2 separate regions of the Homo sapiens genome follow, and region 2 is linked to region 1. The links are contacts of gene promoters, found by promoter capture Hi-C in blood cells and fetal thymus (Javierre and others, 2016). All regions are on one chromosome and are shown on one strand. The core of a region is centred on a gene start or on the middle of the fragment in contact, and the rest is flanking DNA. Distances in the headings are between cores, read along the strand shown.

Region 1 (6,422 bases), core at 79-2,578:
ATTTTCTACTCTAAGTTCTCCAAACCAACTCTCAAATCCAAGATAGCTGCCTTTCCTTTCTTCACCTCCTCTTCTTAGTTTTCCCCAACTTGGCTGCAAAGTCAGCCTCCCCTCTTCTCTTCCTTAGCACCTCAGACCAATAAAACATGCAACCTTTTCTTATTCTTTTTAAAAAATTTATTTTTGACCAGGCGCAGTGGCTCACGCCTGTAATGCCAGCACTTTGGGAGGCCAAGGCGGGTGGATCACGAGGTCAGGAGTTCAAGACCAGCCTGGCCAACATGGTGAAACCCCATCTCTACTAAAAATACAAAAAATTAGCTGGGTGTGGTGGCACACACCTGTAGTCTCAGCTACTCAGGAGGCTGAAGCAGAAGAATCACTTGAACTTGGGAGGCGGAGGTTGCAGTGAGCCGAGATTGTGCCACTATACTCCAGTCTGGGTGACAGAGTGAGACTGCCTCAAAAAGAAAAAAAATTATTTTGTTTGTTTTTTAGATTTTGTAGAGATGGTGTTTCCCTAAGTTGCTCAGGCTGGTCTCGAACTCCTGGCCTCAAGTGATCCTCTCGCCCGGGCCTCCCAAAGTCCTGGGATTACGGGTGTAAGCCAACATGCCTGGCCCCTTTACTTCTTCTTTTCTGTTTTGGTCACAAAACATTTCTCTGTTGATCACTGTAGTGTGTGTGTGGAGGGAAGTGGGGGAGGTACACTCTTAAGAAATGAAATAGTTAACATCTTGGTCCTAAGATTTGTTGTAGAGATGGAGTCTTCTCATTCTGTTCCCCAGGCTGGTCTTGAACTCCTGGCCTCAAGCAATCCTCTTTCCTCGGCTTCCCAAAGTGCTGAGATTGATTACAAGTGTGAGGTACTGCGCCCTGCTACAATCCTTTAATAGGATGTTTTTGGGGGGGGTGGCAGGGGGCAGGATCTAGCTCACTGTAACCTATACTGTTCCAGTGTAACCTGCACCAAGCCATCCTCCCACCTCAGTCTCTTGAGTAGCTAGGAACACAAGCACACATCACCACACCTGGCTCTAACACGATTTTGCTTTTTGCTTTTGTCATTTTGGCTGCTGTTCTTTTTATCTTTCATTCATTCAAGGTCTGAAGATGGAGATAATAGGAATCTTCTCATCTCAATGTGCTCTTTGGCCCCTCCTCTTAAACTGATGCCCCTCTCAGGCCCTGAGGGATTTGGCCTCAGGTTGCCCTGGAAGGGGTGTGAGTGATCAGACAGGTGACTGAGAGCTGGGACGCCTGAGGCCTGCCTAGGCTGAGTCACCTAGTAATGTTGTTGTCATTGTTCCTGTTGAAGTCCCAGCTCAGTGTCACAGACCTTTGTGGAAGCAACAACAGCTCCCATCCTTCCAACCTTTCTGGAGAAGCCGTGGCCTGATGGTGAGCCGAATGGGCTGGGGGGGGAGAAGAAGGCGGCTGGGGCGGTGGGGAGATCTGGGGCCCGGATCGGTGCCCCTCCTCCCCATGCCACTGCCACCTCCTCCTCCTCCTTCATGCCGGGGACCTGGGGGAGGGAGGATCTCCATCTTCTCTCTGTCCCCTGCCCCTCATACAAGAAGCTCCCCCTCCTCATTTTCCCCTCCCACCGCAGGGCCCCCTTGCTCAGTGCTACAGGGGACAGGGGCTTCTCAGTCTTGCCACAGTGCTCTCCCTATCCCAGCCACCCCCCCAACACAGGCTCAACCTGCAATGACACCTGCCTCTGCATCTCCCTCCTGGGGATCCCACTCCACCCCACCCCTGGCCCCGGCAACCCCCACTCCCTCACAGCAGTGCCCCCAGGACTCTCCTGGGCTGCGGGTAGGCCCTTTGATCCCTGAACAGGATTATGAGCGGCTGGAGGACTGTGACCCTGAGGGGTCCCAAGACTCACCCATCCACGGGGAGGAGCAGCAACCCCTGCTTCATGTCCCTGAAGGGCTCCGAGGTATGTGTGTGGGTGTGGGTGGGAGAGGGTTAGTGGTGCCTGGGAGCTCCAGTACTTATCCCAGGCTGGGCCTCTGGCAGCGGGTTGAGAACGTGGAGAATTGATCACATGCCAGGGGCTGACACTCTCCCCTCTGTGCCCAGGCTCCTGGCATCACATCCAGAACCTGGACAGTTTCTTCACCAAGATATCCTTTGCGCTAGGCCTGCAGAGGTGGCATGGGAAGGTCCTCTTGGAGCTGGCACTGTTCTTGGCAGGGAGACTCCGTGAGGGCGTCATGGGTGGGAGACTTGTTGGGGCTGAGGGGAGGTGTCCTCAGGAGAGGCCCCCCGTGCCTCAGGCTTGTTCCTTGACACGCAGCCACATCTACAGCTACCACCAGCGGAATGGCTTTGCCTGCATCTTGCTGGAGGATGTCTTCCAGCTGGGGTGAGACGCTTAGCCCGGGCCCGGAACTCGGTCCCCTGGGCCCATGGCTTCCTTCTGTCATTTTGCTTCCTTAATTGTGCCAGCTGCTTCCATCCCATGCTTTCCCGAGCAGCCCAAGGGCTCAGCAGGGGCAGGGTCAGGGAGGATAACCATGGGCTGCTCTGGGGGCTGGGGCAGGAGCCCACCTGGCTGTCCCTGATCACTGCAGCATCCCGGCACCCCCCCTTCCTCCCGGCAGACAATTTATTTTCATTGTCACCTTCACAACCTTCCTCCTTCGATGCGTGGATTACAATGTTCTCTTTGCCAACCAACCAAGTAACCATACCAGACCTGGGCCGTTCCACAGCAAAGTGACCCTGTCAGATGCCATCCTACCCTCAGCCCAGTGTGCTGAGAGGTTAGTGACAACCTGGTGGGGCCCTGGGGGTGAAGCATGGGCAGTGGGTAGAGGAGTAGACGGGAGCCCCACTTTGTCCCGTCATCTAGATCAGCAGTTCTCAAAGCTTTTGGTCTTAGGACCAAAAATACACTTAATATACTTTAAGTTGTACTTAAGTGTATTAAGTTGTACTTAAAGTGTATTAAGTATATCTTTTTTTTTTTTTAAGACAGAGTTTCACTCTTGTTGCTCAGGCTGGAGTGCAATGGTGAGGTCTTGGCTCACTGCAACCTCCACCTCCCAGGTTCAAGCAATTCTCCTGCCTCAGCCTCCCCAGTAGCTGGGATTATAGGCGTGCACCACCACGTGTATTTTTAGTAGAGACAGGGTTTCACCATGTTGGCCAGGCTGGTCTGGAACTCCTGGCCTCAGGTGATCCACCCACTTTGGCCTCCCAAAGTGCTGGGATTACAGGTGTGAGCCACTGTGCCCGGCCTTTTAAGTGTATCTTAATTACAGTGCATTAAGTGTATCTTAATACACTTAAAATTGGTTGAGAATCCTGAAAAGCTTTTGTTTATGGGAGTCGTATCTATCCACATTTTACCTTATAAAAAATTAAAATTAGGCCGGGCATAGTGGTTCACACCTGTAATCCCAGCACTTTGGGAGGCTGAGGCAGGAGGATTGCTTGAAGCCAGAAGTTTGAGATCAGCCTGAGCAACAAAGTGAGACCACATCTCTATAAAAAATAAAAATTAGCTGGGCTTGGTGGTGCGTACCTGCAGTCCTAGCTAAGCCTAGTCAGGAGGCTAAGACAGTGACTGTCTCTGATCACTGCAGCATCCCTACACCCTCCTCCCTCCCAGCAGACGATTCATTTTCATTGTTGCCTTCACAACCTTCCTCCCTGAAGCATGGATTGCAATGTTCTCTTTGCCAACCAACCAAATAACTGTTCCAGACCTGGGCCGTTATTTGGCAGGGAGATAGGAGCTATGTTTCTACTGCTGCACTACAGCCTGGGTAACAGAGAGAGACCTTGTTTCAATAAAAAGGAAAAAAAAAAAAGAAGGAAATTGTAGCTGAGAACAACTTTAAAATGTAAGAGTGCGGCTGGGCGTGGTGGCTCACACCTGTAATCTCAGCACTTTGGGAGGCCGAGGCGGGCGGATCACAAGGTCAGGAGATCAAAACCATTCTGGCCAACATGGTGAAACCCTGTCTCTACTAAAATATACAAAAATTAGCCAGGTGTGGTGGCGGGCGCCTGTAGTCCCAGCTACCCTGGAGGCTGAGACAGGAGAATCATTTGAACCCGGGAGGTGGAGGTTGCAGTGAGCCAAGATTGCGCCACTGCACTCCAGCCTGGGCGACACAGCAAGACTCCATCTCAAAAAAAAAAAAAAAGAGTGTACAAGCACACATTTCATCAGCTGTCAGTGTGATGTGACATGTTCACGTGTCTTGTAGCCTCTGGAAAACTCCACTGTACTCTCAGAGTACAAGAATGAAAACATCAGAAAGCATTAGTATTATTTGGAAAAAGTTTGACTTTGCACATTTGTGAAGGCCACTTCAGCACCCACCCCCTGCCCCGGGCTCTACCTTGAGAGCTGCTGGTCTAGCTAGATCCCCCTCCTCATGATGGTTTTTCCTCACTCCCGAAGTCTGGTCTGCCTCTTTCTCAGGCGCCCACCTTTCTCCCCCACTGCCCGCCCAACCCCATACAGGATCCGCTCCAGCCCGCTGCTGGTCCTCCTCCTGGTCCTGGCTGCCGGCTTCTGGCTGGTCCAACTGCTTCGCTCAGTCTGCAACCTCTTCAGCTACTGGGACATCCAGGTGTTTTACAGGGAGGCCCTGCACATCCCCCCGGTGAGCTGGGTGGCTGTGTCTGTGCAGAGGGTGCCGTGAGAGGGTGGGCAGAGGAGAGGGGAAGAAGTGGGACTGTACAGGTGGAAGGGCCAACTGGAAAGAGGGCAGAAAGAGCGAGGTCTTATTGACACCTGCCCTAGGCCCAGAATAATGTCAGGAGGGGGCTACCACCACCTAGAGAGCATGGCCCTTACCCTAAGGGAGTTTAGTTTATTTAGATGGCTCATATAAGATGACATATAGTTACATGTTTGTGCTAAAAACATTGATTAGAGAAAAGAGAAAGGGCAGTTATCTGGCTTTTCAGAGCTGGAGGAATTTGGGTTGGGCTTCGGAAGGGCAGGACAGGAGGGGAGGGGAGCACATTCTAAGCCCCAGTGCAGGAAGGTGGGGAAAAGCCATGAGCTTTTGGAAGCTGCAGTGAGGAGATGGACCCATCAGCCTAAAACAGAGCCTTCAAAGCCATCCCCCGCATTGCAGGAAGCCACTGCATTGGCCTGTCACTGTCCACTGCTTATGCTCTGCCCTTTGTTTCCTCACCATCTTGAGTCTGCTCCTCCCTCCTCTGTATCTAAGTTCTTTCTTTGAGGCACAGCTTGAAAGTAGCCTTCTGCAGCTTGCTTCCCTTGCTCCCCTGGGAGGTCCGGAGCCCTCTGCACAGCCTTTATGTGCAGCAAGGGGAGAGGTCTTAGAAGGCCCCTGAGCAGAGGAGAGGGAGGAGGCCGGGGAAGCAGAGGTGGTGAGAGCGGAAGCTGGACCTCGGATTGGCTCTGGCGGGAGACTGCTCACCCGTCTCGTTCTCCTCCTCCCTTCTTTCCCCTCCTCCCCTGTTCCTTCCAGGGGAAGGGAAGGGAAGACACTGGGATGTACTGGAGAGGCCAGCCTGGGGGACTTGACTAACCTGGACTGGGAAAGCTGAGTGAAACTGGGCTGAAGTGAGGTTTGCAGCCTTCAAATGAGATCTGACAGTGCCCCACTGCCAGATGTGGACATAGCCCAGGTCCTGGGAAGGCTTCTGGTGACAGAGCCGAAGATGGCCTGGAGTCGGGTGGGGCTGGGAGTGTAAAGCATGCCCAGGCAGAAGGTGGGGAGGATTCTGTTCCAGAGTTGGTGGGTGCACTAGAAATGGGAAGGAGAGATTCTCCCACGAACTGCCAGACATTCTGGTTTTTTGTTTTTTTGTTTGTTTTGTTTCTTTTGAGACAGGGTCTGGGTCTTTCACCCAGGCTGGAGTGCAGTGCTGTGATATTGGCTCACTGCAGCCTCTGCTCCCCAGTAGCTGCAACCACAGGTGCACACCACCACGCCCTGCTATTTTTTGTATTTTTAGTAGAGACAGTGTCTCACCATGTTGCCCAGGCTGGTCTCGAGCTCCTAAGCTCAGACGATCTGCCTGCCTCAGCCTCCCAAAGTGCTGGGATTACAGGTGTGAGCCACCGCCCCTGGCCAGCCAGTCTGTTTTGTGTGTACAACTGAGGGGGCCTCAGGCCCTTAAGGAGCTGAGAAGCCAGGTCCAGCACCTGGAGGCGTCCCCAGGAAGTGCATGACTACTGGCCACATGAATGGCAGGGATGATGAACAGGGCAGTTTAGAAGAGGATGAAGGAAGTAGGGCGCGCCCTTGTTAGTGACAGGGTTAAGGGAGGGCAGAAAGAGAAAGGTGGGAGAGGGGGACGATGTAGCTTGGTCATGGCGAGTTTGTGATCGCAAACTCAGTTTGCGGGTTTTCAGGCCGCACACTTAGGGGTGTGGAGCTTGAGCATCACTGTGGAGAGGAATGGGGGGTCGC
Region 2 (6,213 bases), core at 2,568-5,067, 1.2 Mb after region 1:
CTCCTTCAAGGGCCCTGGCAGTGGGAAAACATATTATGACAATTGCACTGTTTTATCAGCCCTTGGCACTCCTGAAGTTGCCCTGAAATAAACATCCCTACCTGTATGCCAGGCCCTGCCTACTTCTGGAGCTCTCTTAGGTTTACAACCTACCCCCGCTGTCCCAAATTGATAGGGTGAGCCCAGGGCATTAAATGGGTGGTGCAAGTCAGGCTTCAGGACTGACACGGGTCTATGTGCGCTCAGTGTGGGTTGAGGGGCACTGGGCTGTCTTTCTCCCTACAGTGCATGCTGCTGCCAAACCAGAGATCACTTGTAGACTTGAAAGGGAACATGAGCTTTGGGTGAAGGATTCCCAGCCCCCAACAGAGGCCAAAAAGCTACCACCCAGCCAGGTAAGCCTTGATGGAACATCTCTTGCACAAAGATCACCATGTTCATTGAGCCTTTAGTGCCTCCTGGGCTCTGATCAACCCACGAATCAGTATCTCCGCAGCACTTCCTGTGGTTTGGATTCAGGTTTTTTACTTCTGTTTCCTGCCTTTATGATAGGAGTTTGGGTAACCTGTGAGAAACACAGCCACAGTGTAAACCTCTTGAGACAAGCTACACTGATGGGACAATCAGGGTGAGGGCAATCCGGCGCCGTGGCTATGTCAGCTCATGTGTGCTCTTTCAGGAGGACATGTCTCACAGACACAGATCTTCAGCTCTGACATGCTCGATCTCACAAGCCCTTTTCTGAAACCTCCATCATGTGCTTTCTGATTCTCTACAGGCAGAAGGAACATAAAGTATGCATTTTATGATACGACTCAGCTTGGAGGGATGAAGTAGAAGGTCCTCACTGCACCTCATGGCAGGCTGCTGACGGCAGATATTTTACCGGGCTCACTGAACTGGGCAGTCAGGGAAGGGTCGGCTCCTGCTCTGTCCAGCTGTCTTCATAAGGGACTCTGTGACACTTTTTATAAAAATGACTTTGATTTCTGCATAAGAAGGCTTCCCAAGCTTGCTGTCTAGCAGTGGCTGCTACAGGGAATTATTCACATGGCAGCAAGAGAGCCCTGGCTCCCTGGACCAGGACATTCCCTTTGTGTGTGTTGGAATGAGAGCAGGAGGAGTGCTGGTCAGAAGCCCCTCCCCAGGGCTCTGGGACTTCAGTGTTCTCAGACAAACTGGGCCGCTCCTCTGAGCTGGGATGCTGACCCACACTTGGCCCCGGCTCTGGCATCCACAGGACGCTGCCTTATCCGTCATCTCGCTGGGGCTGGGGGCTAGAGGCTGAGCAGGTCACACTGAACAAAAGAAGTGTGTCCCCATCACTAGGCTAACATCTGAGTTTCTTCCACAGTATTTGGTAACACAGTCAGAAACAAGACTGAAGATGATTCTGGAGGCAACTGGGAACCCCCCAGAACGATTCTGCAGGCTTCTGGGAAGCTGAAAAACCCCAAGGCCAGACTGGCCTCAGAATGCCTGAGTCCTTTTGATTCCACTGGAAAAGCCATCCATCTGTGCCAAGTGTGTGGAGAGCTTCAAGAGCCATATAGCCCTGGCCACCATGAGCACAGCCACGTGGGGGAGTAGTCCTGAAAGTGTCCTGGTGTGGCAAAGGCTTTCCACTAAGTGGACCTCAGATGGCACAGGAAGACCCTCCTGGGGATGTGGGAGGACACTGCCTAGTGGGTGAGGGGCCGCTCTTTCAGGTGTGCACACTAAATGCAGAGACAGCCTCTCCTGGCTGCCAAGAAGCCTGTGCATGATCCAGGACCACAAAACACTTGCAAACTCACTGCCCAGAGGCCCTGTGCCTGTCTGGAGTGTGCCCAGTGTGTCTGCGCCCCACAGCTTGTCCTGGCCCGCCAGCAGAGCCGCAGCACTGCAGGGCCCTTCTGTTGTGAGTGCCAGGGCCCTTGCTGGCTGCCTGAGCAAGGCAAAAGGTTCAAAACAGGAAGTCTCTGGGCAGCTATTCCCAGGTGCAGAGGGGAGCAGCGGCCACACAGGTGCCAGTGTGGCAGGAGCTGCAGTCAGAGGCAGCATCTCAAGAGCCCTGGGAGCAGGGGCCAGCCACGTGAAGCCCACGAGTGTCGCTGGCACAGGGAAGGGACACGAGGATCACACTGACCCAAGAGAAGGCCCACAGTGAGGAGGCCCCACCGAAGCATCCCCAGCAACAGGGACTGAGGCATCTGAGGCAGCCAGCCCACTCGGAAAGGCCTGCTGACTGCACTCCAGATGTCAAGAGCACCCTTGGGAAAAAGAAAGGCAGGAGTGCAGCACTTTCTAGAGCCTCAGCTCACTTCTCTCCTTCTAGCTCCAGCCGGAGTGATGGAAGAGGCTGCGCTGGGAGCTGCCTCCCTGGGAGCCTACCCTGCCCAGCCTGAGAGTGGAGGCTACCAGCATCACGCTTCCCCTAGTGAAATCCATCTGTCCTGAAGGGAACCCTGGGACGGGGTCAAGGAAACCCTGTTCACCCCCACCACGGGGTCAGGTCTTCACCAAAGGGAGGCCGCACGGATTCCCAGTCGCAAACCCAAAGCCTTGCTGCCTTTGCCTCTGTTTCCATAGTTGTTTCAATGTCTTTTTTAAAAATCACATACACTCGAGTAAGACTGAGTCTCCTCACCGAAGAGATCTGGCTGTATCCCGAGTCTCTGAAACCTTTGCTCCAGTCCCGTGGGAGCGTGCCGTCCCGAGGATGTGGAGCCGCAAGGGCTCGCCAGAGGGATCTCAGGAGCTAGGCCTCAAGGAGCGCTGTTGAGTGACAGGTCTGATGCAGTAGCTTTTACTATTGGTGGAAATCGATGTTTTTTCCTTGAAAGTCTACCTTTCTAAGTTCAGTAAACCAAATTAGATCATGTATGTGAAAGCACTTTGTAAACTATGCAGTACTCCAGAAAAGGCAGCCAAGCCCTTAATTATAACTCACCAAACAGCCAACTCTCATCTTTACCTTCTAACTGGCAAAAATGATTGAGCTCACTTTGAAGGACTAGAGAGGAAAGAAACTGAAAGACAAAAATCAGGTGAATACACAGGCACTTCCCCTGCCCACCTCTGTTCCTGGCCCTGTCCCCTCGTGAGTGAGAGCAGAGCTCGTTCTGTCAGCTTCTCTGAGCTCCTGGTCCTCGCTTAGGGACACACAAGACAGAGATGTGTTGAAATAGACTCTGCTTTATTCAGGTAGCAAAAGGTTAGGAATCAAACATGGTTTTTAAAACCTCCTTTCATCTTTGAAAATAGAGGAGAGAACATCCCTGGGCCAGTCACAGTTACTGTATTTGGCTAAGCACACACCTGTATGAGGGACCCGCCCCTCCACACTGTTCTGATAGGTACTTAGCACCCTAGAAACTCATCCTCTGCAGGAGAGAGAAGCAAGGGTCTGGAGCGCGGTCACATACTCTAAGGTATCTTCCAGGACAGGGGGCTGGGCTCCCTCACTCCCACCTGGAGTCGCTATGGCTATTGGGATCAAACTACCAGTTACATACTGGTTACTTGGAATGTCAGACCCGGTGGGTATCAGTCATCAGGGAGAGGGAGGGGAAATGCCAGGACACGTACATACGGATGCTGTCAAGACTACAGGCAAGGAGGAGGGTGGCGACAAGCGCTGGGACTCCAGCCAAAGCGGGAGTGCATGCTTCTTCCCCTCCCAGAGCCCTGTGGTTTTTCTTCTTGTGAGGCATAAACAGGAAGCCTCTCCAACAAGGGGGTCTCCAGCACTAGGGGCTGAAACTCAGCCAGCCTCTCCAAACAAAGCAAAGGGGCCAGCCTGGGCCAGGGCCTCTGATAAGGATGCTCACTGTGTTTCCACGGGGGTCCTGAATGAGGAAGTTCAGGAATAAGATGGCAGTCATCTTCTTCCTTCTTGGCCATTGGCTGACAAAGGGGAACGGAGCAGGCCTGTGCCCCTTGAGAAATCGGGTAGTGCAAATTTTATGACAAACAGCATTCTCAGTGGCCCCGCTGCACAGGGACCCCCCTTTCCCACCACCTAAGGAAGGCACTGGCCGGTGTCCTCGGAGCACGCTGATGCTGACGTGGAGAGGGCGAGTTGCTTCCCCTAGCTTCCACCTCAGCTCCAGAACTACTCCCACAGAGACCCACTCACGGCTGCTCACAGGATGGCCTCCTGCTCTGAGGGATTCTTCAAGGATGAAGAGGCCGCAGGAAGCATGTGTGCTGGAACAGCACCTTGATGTGGAATCCCTGTGGGTAGGGCAGAGGCTATAGCCCCACCTAAAAAAGCCTTTCTCCCTCCCTTTCCACGAGTTCACATCCACAGTGCCTGACCTGGGCAAGTTCCTGAACGCCCATGGAGACGGTGATGGGGAGAAGGAGGCCTGTGTGTGCCTTAGCCACGCAGATAGTAACACCTCCCAGAGCTCCCGCACCACAGGCCTGTGGGGTCCCTCTGACCGCCAGACCCACAGGGCTGGGAGACATTTCCACAGGTCAAAGGCAGAAAGCAAGAAAGGAATTCCTGACTAGAACTGAAAATGACACGAAAGCAACAGTGCTAAGGCTAAGTACTGGGGTGGGGATGAAAGGGCAGGTGGGGTACCAGGGTACCTGCGGTACCAGGGAGGGGCTCGGACGCCAGCATCTACCCTGGGAATGGGAAGGGTACTCAGACAGCAGCTTCTACCCTGGGAATAGGAAGGGTACTCAGGTGCTCAGATGCCAGCATCTACCCTGGGAATGGGAAGGGTACTCAGACAGCAGCTTCTACCCTGGGAATAGGAAGGGTACTCAGGTGCTCAGATGCCAGCATCTACCCTGGGAATGGGAAGCGGCAGACTATGGAGAAAGGGCCCACCCACAGGGGCCTGCAGCACAGCACAGGACCTGCCTGAGCCAGGCAGCAAGCAAGCTGGGATGGATGGCGCCCACTTCCTGCCTGTTTAAAACAAGTATCAGGCAGGGCAGAGAAACCCTGCCTGCTGACTTGCCTCATTTCCTGCCCATGGTTAAGGAAGGCAGAACCTAGACAAAATCATCCTCCTCCTGATAAGCGGCCTCCTGAGCCTGCCAAGACGGAGCTGCCCTTGGAAGGAAAAGTGCTTCACTTTAGGTGGAAGGAAGATCGGGGCGAGGAGGGTGTGAACCTAGCAGTGCCAGAAGCCCCTCTGTGCCTCTAGGGCGGTGGTTCTGTGGTTCTGAAGCTAGAGCAGGCCCAAAGTCCCTGGAGGAGGTTGTTCAAAGCCCTTGTCACTGAGCGCCCATTCGGGGATGTCTCAGTGGGCCCTGGAGATCCTGGTGCAGAGTCCCCAGGGCAGCTCAGAGAAGAGTGGACTAGCCTGTCGTGCAGATGGTGCATTCAGAGAGCAACTCCTACAACAAGGACTTTGGAGACAAATTCCTACCTGTCCCACTAAGGACGAGGATGGGGCAGATGGCAGCTAAGTCCACACTGCAGCCAGAGGTCTTTGAGGGAGCTCGAGGCTCTCATTCACTAATCCTAGGGCAGATGGGGAGTCAGCAGGCACTTGGATCTCTGCTGCCACTTCATGGAGAGGGAAACTGAGGCACAAAGAGGAAGGGATTAATCAGACCACTGCCTGCAGCAGAGCTGGGGCTGCATCCCAAGCCTCCCAACTCCAACTTCGTCCCATCCTCTCCTGGGTAAACCGGGCCGGGCATGCCACGGGTTAAACGCGGCTCGGCTCTCCGGGAAGCACCAGACCCCCTGCCAGAAGAGCCCAGCTCCACCATCTGGAGCTGCAGGAAGAGAACTTTCTTGGGTGCTCTGTGCAAAGGGCTTGTGATTGTTTCGCCCTAAAGGAAGCCCTGGGAAGAGGTAGAGTTCCGCACGAGACCACGGCCTCACTGCTTCTGCTGTGGGAGCCAGGGTAGGAAGTCCCAGAACAATGCCTCTGGGGGCTCTTGCAGCCAGGCCAGCTGTCCCTAGAGCAGGGGCAACCTCCCCCTCTAACAAGGTGGTCTTTCCCATTCCCACTTAGACTGTGGGCAGCCTCCCTGGAACATTCCCCAGGGATGTCCAACAGTCTCCCCTACCAGGACACTCCTCTTGCCACCAAAACTCAGGGGCTGAAACCTTTCATGATGGGGTTATTTTCTGCAGCACCTTAAAAATGAACTTGAGATATAGAACCTTCTGGCACATTTGTGTGCTGTGAGGCATGGCTGTGCTGAGTGGGGCCTCAGGAAACAGGTCATGCACCTCCTGATACCCCTGCTGCT

The links. The method cuts DNA at HindIII sites, captures the fragments that hold promoters and counts their contacts. A CHiCAGO score of 5 or more calls a contact.
Region 2: a fragment that was not itself captured here is called in contact with the fragment with the promoter of ATG9B in region 1 in 1 of 17 cell types (non-activated CD4 T cells); the score reaches 5.3 in non-activated CD4 T cells.

What each region holds. Positions count from the first base shown.
Region 1 is chr7:151,019,400-151,025,821 of GRCh38, reverse strand. ATG9B (autophagy related 9B) reads left to right here and starts at 1,328. Exons shown (of 14, transcript NM_001317056.2): 1 at 1,328-1,948; 2 at 2,092-2,135; 3 at 2,313-2,377; 4 at 2,616-2,777; 5 at 4,493-4,634. The coding sequence starts at 1,399. It overlaps LOC124901777 (a long non-coding RNA gene), which reads left to right. Exons shown (of 3, transcript XR_007060593.1): 3 at 789-827. RefSeq lists an enhancer at 1-417. The HindIII fragment of the contact is 8,592 bases long and covers 1-2,885 here.
Region 2 is chr7:149,864,424-149,870,636 of GRCh38, reverse strand. ZNF862 (zinc finger protein 862) reads right to left here. Exons shown (of 8, transcript NM_001099220.3): 8 at 3,158-6,213. It overlaps ATP6V0E2-AS1 (ATP6V0E2 antisense RNA 1), which reads left to right. Exons shown (of 4, transcript NR_027040.1): 3 at 286-395; 4 at 779-2,943. Among named protein-coding and RNA genes, the nearest start is that of ATP6V0E2-AS1, 6.3 kb to the left of the region's middle. The HindIII fragment of the contact is 5,608 bases long and covers 1,014-6,213 here.